3 separate regions of the Homo sapiens genome follow, and all the other regions are linked to region 1. The links are contacts of gene promoters, found by promoter capture Hi-C in blood cells and fetal thymus (Javierre and others, 2016). All regions are on one chromosome and are shown on one strand. The core of a region is centred on a gene start or on the middle of the fragment in contact, and the rest is flanking DNA. Distances in the headings are between cores, read along the strand shown. Region 1 holds the start of RASSF9 (Ras association domain family member 9). Region 2 has its middle 180 kb from the start of LINC02820. Region 3 has its middle 230 kb from the start of LINC02820.

Region 1 (2,780 bases), core at 99-2,598:
TTATAAATAATGAAATAGTATAGGACACATGTGTATATGCACATACAGAAACATGAAATATAGATGAATAGAGAAAGATTATGATAATAAATAATGAAAAACATGATTTATCTGAGCACTGCATAAATCAGTGTGTATCAGAATCATGGAAGACCTTGAGATTATTTTTTTGTTTGGTGTTGTTGGGGGTAGGGGATAAACTCCCAAAGTAAGTAGGAGCGATTCATATTCTTTGCCAAGGCTCAGAAAGAACTCACAAGTTTGTTGGCTTTCCTTTCCCTCCCTCCCTCATCGTCTGCCTGGGAAGCCCATGATTAGAAGCCTGGCGGGGTGGAGGGTGGTGGGGTGGTTTTAGGAGGGGCAAAATCCCAGTAAAACACGTCCATGAGAAAGCTCTCCTGGCCCTTGCCCCTAAATAGTGCTTTCCCATGAGTGCCAGGTACCTGGTGGGAGCTGCGCTGGGCCTCCCACAGGCACCCGAACTCTCCCATCTCCATTCCTCTGCCCTGCTTCTGGATTCGAGCTCTCCTGGGACCAGATGAAGCCCTCCCTCCCTTAGACTTCCACTTCACATTTCGAGCTCCAGCAGATCCCCTCGGTGTGTCTTCTTTACTCCTTGAGGGGCAGGAGCAGTTTGCTTTTCCTCTGAAATTCCCAGGGCTCTAAAGGCCCAGTGAATGTCAAAGATGGGGTAGGGGTCAACATAAACGCCTTGGGAGTCAAACACTAAACTCCAGCTGGTTCCTAGACCAAACTGTGATGCATCAGCCCTGGAGCCCTGTGGTCCTTCAGGTCCTTCGACTTTTGCAAGATGAACTTGAGAGTGTGGAGCAGGGGCCTGGAAGAAACTCTTAAGACCGTGAACTCAGGGACTTAACAATTCTAAGTGGTCTGTGAGTCCACCTTGATCCGGTTTCCAGCTTCCCTCTCCCTAATATATTTTAAAGTCCTGACACCCTGGCAGGGGATCTGGGGTCGAATGAGTTGGCAAAGAGAGTTCTCAGCAATCCCTCATGCTTGCCATGATCAGATGACTTTTCACAGACTGGAGCTGACCAGGAGTTGGGGGATATTTACTTTTAATCCTTTTATGTGTGTTCAGTACACCTTGTGTGGTTGGGTGTGGAAAGCGGGGGAGGGGGGATTTCCAGATCGAGTGAAACTCCCGTTCCATTGGTATTACCATGCTTGTGGGGTTGGCAGTTCTTTAAGTCTGCAAATAACTACAGAACACAATAGAGTCCTCCTCCCTTCCTCTCTCTCTCTTTCTTTTTTTTTTTTCTTTTCCTGCTTCCAAACGCCTTCTTCGAGGCTGAAGCTGGGCAGGTCTCCAGAGGTGCAGCAGCCACAACAATCCCGCAGTTCAAAGTTAAGCAGCAGTTGCACAACTTCCAGCAACTTTCTCAGCCGGCTACTAATGAGCTGAAAGCCAGGAACATCCGAGGAGAAGAGAAAGCTTCCAGCCCTCCTCCCTTCACCCTGGAAATCCAGACACCCCCACCCCCACCCTCAGATCACTTTAAGATAATTTCTTTATTCGTTTGCCCGACAGACCATGGCTCCCTTTGGAAGAAACTTGCTAAAGACTCGGCATAAAAACAGGTAAAGTCAAGCGTGTGAGTAAGTGTGTGTGTGTCTCTGTGTGTGTGTGTGTCTTGTGTGTGTACTCTGGACCCTACCTGTGAAAGTATGTGTTTTGTGGTTGTTAGATTCTGATAAAAAAAGGCTTCGTGGGGACACAGTCCTAGCCTAAGGAGTTAGGCTAGTATGAATACCTAGATAGTAAGGATATTCTCCCAGTATTGATGATGGGAGTGACCAGCTCAAGGATCGCAGAGAATAAAGAGTGATTATATTTGACTCCTTTCTCCCCTTTTGACCAGTCCTGTTTCCACAACTAGCAACATAAACAGTTTCTTTTTTTGTTGCCCTGGGCATTTGAGGGTAGTACAATAAAAAGTGTCATTTTGTTTCAACAGAACTTTAGAATATTGTAGAAATAATTAAAACTTTGATAAAGATGTAACTAGTATTTATAGCCACTAAGTAGGATGAAAAATAAAACTGCTGATACAATTCAGAAACAATGCTTTGGCTCCCCTGAGAGTGAGGCATTCCTGAAACCTGGAATGTTCCCAAAGTGGAAACACTCTGGAGAGAAACTTTGTTTGAATTGATTCTTTAAAAAATCTTTGAGAATTTTAGGTAGTTTTAAGCACTAAAGAAGGATTCAAGCAGCTATCCTCTCTAATCCTTATTATTACTGTTTTACTTTGATTTGATTTGATATTTCAAGCTTGAAATGCCCATAGTATAAATAAGTTACTCAAAACACACATACACACACGTATTTTTCTAGGGACAGTATGTCTGTCTTAGTCTTATTAAATATTTTATTTACACATCAAATGTTACGTTTTCATGCCAAAAACTTGAGAATAAATTTAGACATGGGCTATATTTTTTTAAAAATATATTTATTTTGGCATAGGGGATTGTCCACCACTTTTCTCTCAATCATGCCTGTTTGTACTTGTCATAATTTGCTCAGTGCAGATTCAAAAGGATACAATTACATGGTAGGAAATGATATAATTATTTTAAAGTGTCTACATGACAATATAGAGTAATACAACTTTAAAGTAAATCTCCATACTTTATTTTGCGCACACATGTCTACTTTGAAAATCCTGTTTTTAACTCATTCCAAATGTATTCATGATTTAGGTGACAAAATTTCCTTTAGAAAGTAAATGGCCTTAATAAATACTGTAAAAGTT
Region 2 (2,780 bases), core at 193-2,692, 340 kb after region 1:
AACAAATTCTGGAATTGAAATAATATTTGACAACCTTTCAAATATGCAGAAAAATATAAATGTCCAGATCAAGGAAGGTCAAAGGTCTTCAATCAGGCTAAATTCAAATAATACTAGCCTAAGCCATATTATAATCAAATTATCAAAACTAAAAAACAAAAAGGAAATTCTGAAGGGAGCCCAAGAAAAGAAGCAAATAACATATAAGAGAGTTTTAATACACCTAGCATCAGACTCTCAGAAGAAACATTACAGGCCAGAAAAGAGTGGGATAAAATATTAAAAGTGCTCAAAGAATGAGAACATGTCCTTTGCAGGGACATGGATGAAGCTGAAGCCATTATCCTTAGCAAATGAACACAGGAACAGAAAACCAAATACTGCATATTCTCACCTATAAGTGGAAGCTAAGTGATGAGAATACATGGACACATAGAGGGGAACAACACACACTGGGGCCTTTTGGAGGGTGGCGGATGGGAGGAGGTAGAATATCAGGAAAAATAACTAATGGGCACTAGGCTTAATACCTGGGTGATGAAATAATCTGTACAACAAATCCCCATGGCATGAGTTTATCTATGTAACAAACCTGCACTTGTACCCCTGAACTTAAAAGTTAAAAAAAAAAGAAGAGAACTACCAACCAAGCATATCGTACCCAGCAAAACTGTGCTTGAGAAATGAAGAAGAGGCAGGGCATGGTGGCTCATGCCTTTAATCCCAGCAATTTCAGAGGCTGAGATAGATTACCTGAGTCCAAGAGTTTGAGACAAGCCTGGATGACATGGAGAAACCTCATCTCTATAAAAAATAAAGTAAAATAAAAGATTAGCCAGGCATGGTGGTATATGTCTGTAGTCCCAGCTATTTGGGAGACCGAGATGGGAGGATTGCTTAAGCCCAGAAGGCAGAGGCTGCAATGAGCCATGACATCATCACAGGACTCCAGCCTGAGCAACAGAGCCACTCTGTCTCAAAAAAAAAGAAAAAAAAAAAAAGAAAGGGAAAAAAAGAAATGAAGAAGAGATAAATCAGATAAACAAAAGCTGAGGGATTTTATCACCACCAGACTTGTCCTATAATAAATGCCAAACAAAGTTCTTCAAGCTGAAGAAATAGCTTACTTACTAATGAGTAAGACAAAAATATCTGAAAGTATAAAACTAATTAGTAAAAGTAAGTACATAGTCCAATTTAGAATACTCTAATACTGTAAATGGTAGTGTGTAAATCACTTATAACTTTAACATAAATGATATTAAAAGACAAAACTAAAAATAATAACTACAGTAATTTGTTAAGAGATATACAATATAGAAAGATTACAATGGTAACATTAAAAATTTTAAATGTTAGGTGGACAGCTGAGGAAATGCATAGAGATTTTCATTGTGGGTGTTTGTTGGCAATCAAAGTTAAGTTATTATCAGCTTAAAATAATCTATTTTAACTATAAGATGTTTATTGTAAGCATCATAGTAACTACAAAGCAAAATCTATGGTAGATTTAAAAAATAAATGAAACACAAGAAATTAAAACATACCACAAAAGAAAAATCATTTAACCACAAATAGAGACAAACAGAAAGAAAAAAAGAAAAAAACAACAGATCTACAAAGCAAATAGAAAACAATTAACAAAATTACAGTCAGAAGTCCTAACCTATCAGTCATAACCTTGAATTTAAATGATGTAAATTCTCCTATCAAAAGATATATAATGGCTGAATGGATAGACAATCAAAACCAACTATGTGCTGCCTACAGAAACTGATGACTTAACTCTTCCAAAAAACTGAAGAGAAAGGAATACTTGAAAACCTACTTTATAAGGCCATAATTACCATAATATCAAAATCAGACAAAGATATAGCAAAAATAAAATGATAATTCACTATCCTTGCTGAATATAAATGCAAAAATCCTCAAAGAAATGCTAAAAAACTGAATTCGATAGCACATTAAAAAAGATTATTCACCAAGATCAAGTGAGATTCATCCCAGGGATCCAAGGAAGGCTCAACATACCCAAATCAAAAATCATGATACATCATATTAAGAGAATGAAGGGCAAAAACCACCATATGATCAGTTCAACAGATACACAGAAGCATTTGACAAAATTCAACATCCTTTCATGATAAAAACTCAACAAATTATGTTTTGAAGTAATGTATCTCAACATAATAAAGACCATGTATGGCAAAACCACAGCTAACATTCATAGTCAATTGGAAAAAAATGGAAAGATCTCATCTAAAATCTGGAACAAGACAAGGATGCTCACTCTTACCATTTCTATTCAACATAGTTTTGGAAGTCTTCGCCAGAGCATTTAGGCAAGAGAAAGAAATAAAAGGCATCCAAAATGGAAAGGAAGAAGCTAAATTATTCCTATTGGCAAATGACACTGTCTTACATTTATACCACCTTAAATATAAAACTCCACTGAAAACAAAATTGTTAGAACTAATAAATTCAATAAAGATGTAAAATACAAAATTAACATTCAAAAATCTATAGTGTTTCTGTGTATTAACAGCAAACTATCAGTAGCTACAAAAAAACACAAAAACTTAGTAATAAAGTTAACCAAGCAGGTGAAAAATATCTACATTGAAAACTATACAGCATTTATGAAAGAAATTGAAAATGACACAAATAAATGAAATAGTCATCCATGTTAATGGAGTAGAACTAATATTGTTAAAATGTCTATATTGCCCAAAGCAATCTACAGATTCAGTGCAATTTCCATCAAAATAGCAGAGGCATTT
Region 3 (2,780 bases), core at 111-2,610, 290 kb after region 1:
CATTAATGGGTTTTGCCATGCTGACAATCTTTCTTCATGCTGAGTTTGGTTGGTGAAAAATCCTGTAAAAATAAAGTTACTTTTTCTCTCCTGCTGTTATCATTGACTTTTTTGAAATCATTATTATTTGCATCTTTGGTTTCTTTCTGTTTATAAAGGTTTTATAGCTATTTGTTTTAAATGAAAAATGTCTAGGTCTTTATTTTTTCCAGTTTTAAAACTGGAAATTTTTTTAAAACTGGATAAAATTTTTTTATCACTCTGAGAATTTATTAATAGCAAGAATAGTTCTTCTACTTATGGAATTGAACTTTTTGGAAGGTTGTTTTTCCTTCACAGATTGATGGAATTTCATGAGCCTGGCCTTGTCCCTCTTTTAACAATAATAACAGACCAAATATTTAGTTAAATAATTTGTCTTCAGGGTGCATATATAAGTATTTTTGGAGCTCGAAGTTTCAAATAAACTCATCAAGGCAGGTAACTATACTGCAACATATGGTTTGCCAAGATTTAGATAGTTATGGCTTCAAAAACAAATCATTCTGGATTCTAAATTTATGTGATTAAGGGAATTATTTTGTTGTTGTTTGAGAGGTGGAGCTGGAAAAGAGTTTTGGATTTTAAAAAAGATTGTCTTGGCCCAATAAAGAGATAGAATACACTTCTAATGCCTCTGACTGTCCTGGAGAGATGACCATGAGAGCCTATATATTTACAGTTGCAGCTCTCCTCAGAGTGATCCCGAATTCAGGTGTTGGGGTTCCCATGCACAAAATAATCCACAAATCATACGTCTACATTTCAAATATAGCATGGATACCAAAAAAACTAAACCCTACTACATCATCCAGCTTTAGGTTCAAAGTCTATAAGTTTCAACTAATTTAGATTATTTTCTCTAATGGTCAAAGGAAATCCTGTTATAGAATGGTATTTGCTAGGGTGGGGACAAAGGTAGTTTCAAGCCCTAGTAGTTCCGAGAAAAATGCTCCTAAGCTTATCTTACTCAAAACCTAAGGCAACCAAAGAATAAGTAAATTATTATGCTTGGGGCTCATACTCTATATTTCTGTTTCAAGGTAATCTTGTTTTTACTCAGAATGATTTACCTCAATGATTCCCATAAGAATTGAAGGAGGAGGAGAAGGTAGCAGGGGGCATTTTTAAGAGAGAATATGACAATGACTTGAATACATTTTTAAACTACATGTGGCTCACATCCCAGGAGATGCATAAACACAACTCGGTAAAGCTATTCCACCACCTATGGTCATTGTATTCATTTCCTATTGCTGCAACAAATCACTACAAATGCAGTGGTTTCAAACAACACAAATTTATTCTCTCTCTTATTGGGTTAAAGTCAGGCTGTTGGCAGGTCTGGTTCCTTCTGGAAGCTCTAAGAGAGTATTAATTCCCTGCCCTTGCCAGGCTTTAGAAGTTGCCCACATTCCTTGGCTCAGAGCACGCTTCCAGCAATGACATTATTTGATCTCTGTTTCCATATGATATCTCTCACATGACCACCAGGCAGAATATTATTCTTCTTTATAGTCCAACAGAATTATTTTCACATATGCCACTGTTTAAGCACTTATTACATTGTGTGGCGTACTAGTCTGTTCTCATGCTGCTAATAAAGACATACCCGAGACTGGGTAATTTGTAAATGAAAAGATTTTATTGGCTCACAATTCAGCATGGCTGAGGAAGCTTCAGGAAACCTTCAATCATGAGGGAAGGGAAAGCAAACACAGCATTCTTCATATAGCAGCATCAAGGAGAAGTGCCAAGCAAAAGGGAAAAGCCTCATATAAAACCATCAGATTTCATGAGAACTCACTCACTATCATGAGAACAGCATGAGGGTAACCACCCCTATGATTAAATTACCTCCTACCAAGTCCCTCCCATGACACATGGGATTATGGGAGCTACAATTCAAGATGAGATTTGGGTGGGGACACAGCGAAACCATATCATAAGGTAAATATGTATTAGAAATACTCCTCAAGCTATAACGGGGTTATAAACTGTTAAACCTATCATAAAGTTGAAAAATTGTAAGTTGAACCATCCTAAGTGGGGCCCATCTGTATATCTGTATATATCTTTCTTTTGAAATGAACTCTTCAACGTCAGAGACAATGCTTAATTTCCTTTTGAATATCAATGCCTACCACAATATCTACGATATAGTAGATGCTTAATAAATGTTTACAATAATTAAATAACTAAAATTCTTTGTATCCGCCAGAATAAATTTTATAGCTCTCTGTGAAGTAGAGGTACATGCCATGAAGGATCAGTTCAAATTTTCTAGGGAGGAAGACCTCATCTGTTTTTGGTTACATGGATTGTGGTGCTTCAAGAGGAATGAAACTGTTCTTCCATAATCCAACTTCCAAAAAGAAAATAATAAAAATAGGCATCTTACTGTTCATCTATCTTTGTCTCACTTGTAATATTGGCCCTATAGCTAAAAACAATACACTTTTAAAATATTTCTGTATTTCATCTTTAGGTTTTTTTTATATTTTAGCATCTTTTATAAAAAGAAGCAATAAATAAACATCATATAGATGAACACTATTGGGCATTTGTCATTGAAAAAATGTAACTTTGAATGGTATTTCAAAGAATAAAATCAATCTGTAAGTATTGAGATCTCTTGAGAATTAAACACATATAACAGGTTTTAGCAGTCATATTGGAACTTGTCTCCATATGTCTCTTCATTTATAACTCTATTATAGCATTTTCCTTTAGTTTGGAAA

The links. The method cuts DNA at HindIII sites, captures the fragments that hold promoters and counts their contacts. A CHiCAGO score of 5 or more calls a contact.
Region 2: a contact is called between a fragment that was not itself captured here and the fragment with the promoter of RASSF9 in region 1, in 2 of 17 cell types (erythroblasts and megakaryocytes). The highest score is 6.2, in erythroblasts.
Region 3: a contact is called between a fragment that was not itself captured here and the fragment with the promoter of RASSF9 in region 1, in 1 of 17 cell types (erythroblasts). The highest score is 5.1, in erythroblasts.

What each region holds. Positions count from the first base shown.
Region 1 is chr12:85,834,977-85,837,756 of GRCh38, reverse strand. It overlaps RASSF9 (Ras association domain family member 9), which reads left to right and starts at 1,348. Exons shown (of 2, transcript NM_005447.4): 1 at 1,348-1,602. The coding sequence starts at 1,556. The HindIII fragment of the contact is 4,697 bases long and covers 1-1,458 here.
Region 2 is chr12:85,491,827-85,494,606 of GRCh38, reverse strand. No RefSeq gene overlaps it. Among named protein-coding and RNA genes, the nearest start is that of LINC02820, 180 kb to the right of the region's middle. The HindIII fragment of the contact is 6,875 bases long and covers 1-2,780 here.
Region 3 is chr12:85,543,526-85,546,305 of GRCh38, reverse strand. No RefSeq gene overlaps it. Among named protein-coding and RNA genes, the nearest start is that of LINC02820, 230 kb to the right of the region's middle. The HindIII fragment of the contact is 717 bases long and covers 1,002-1,718 here.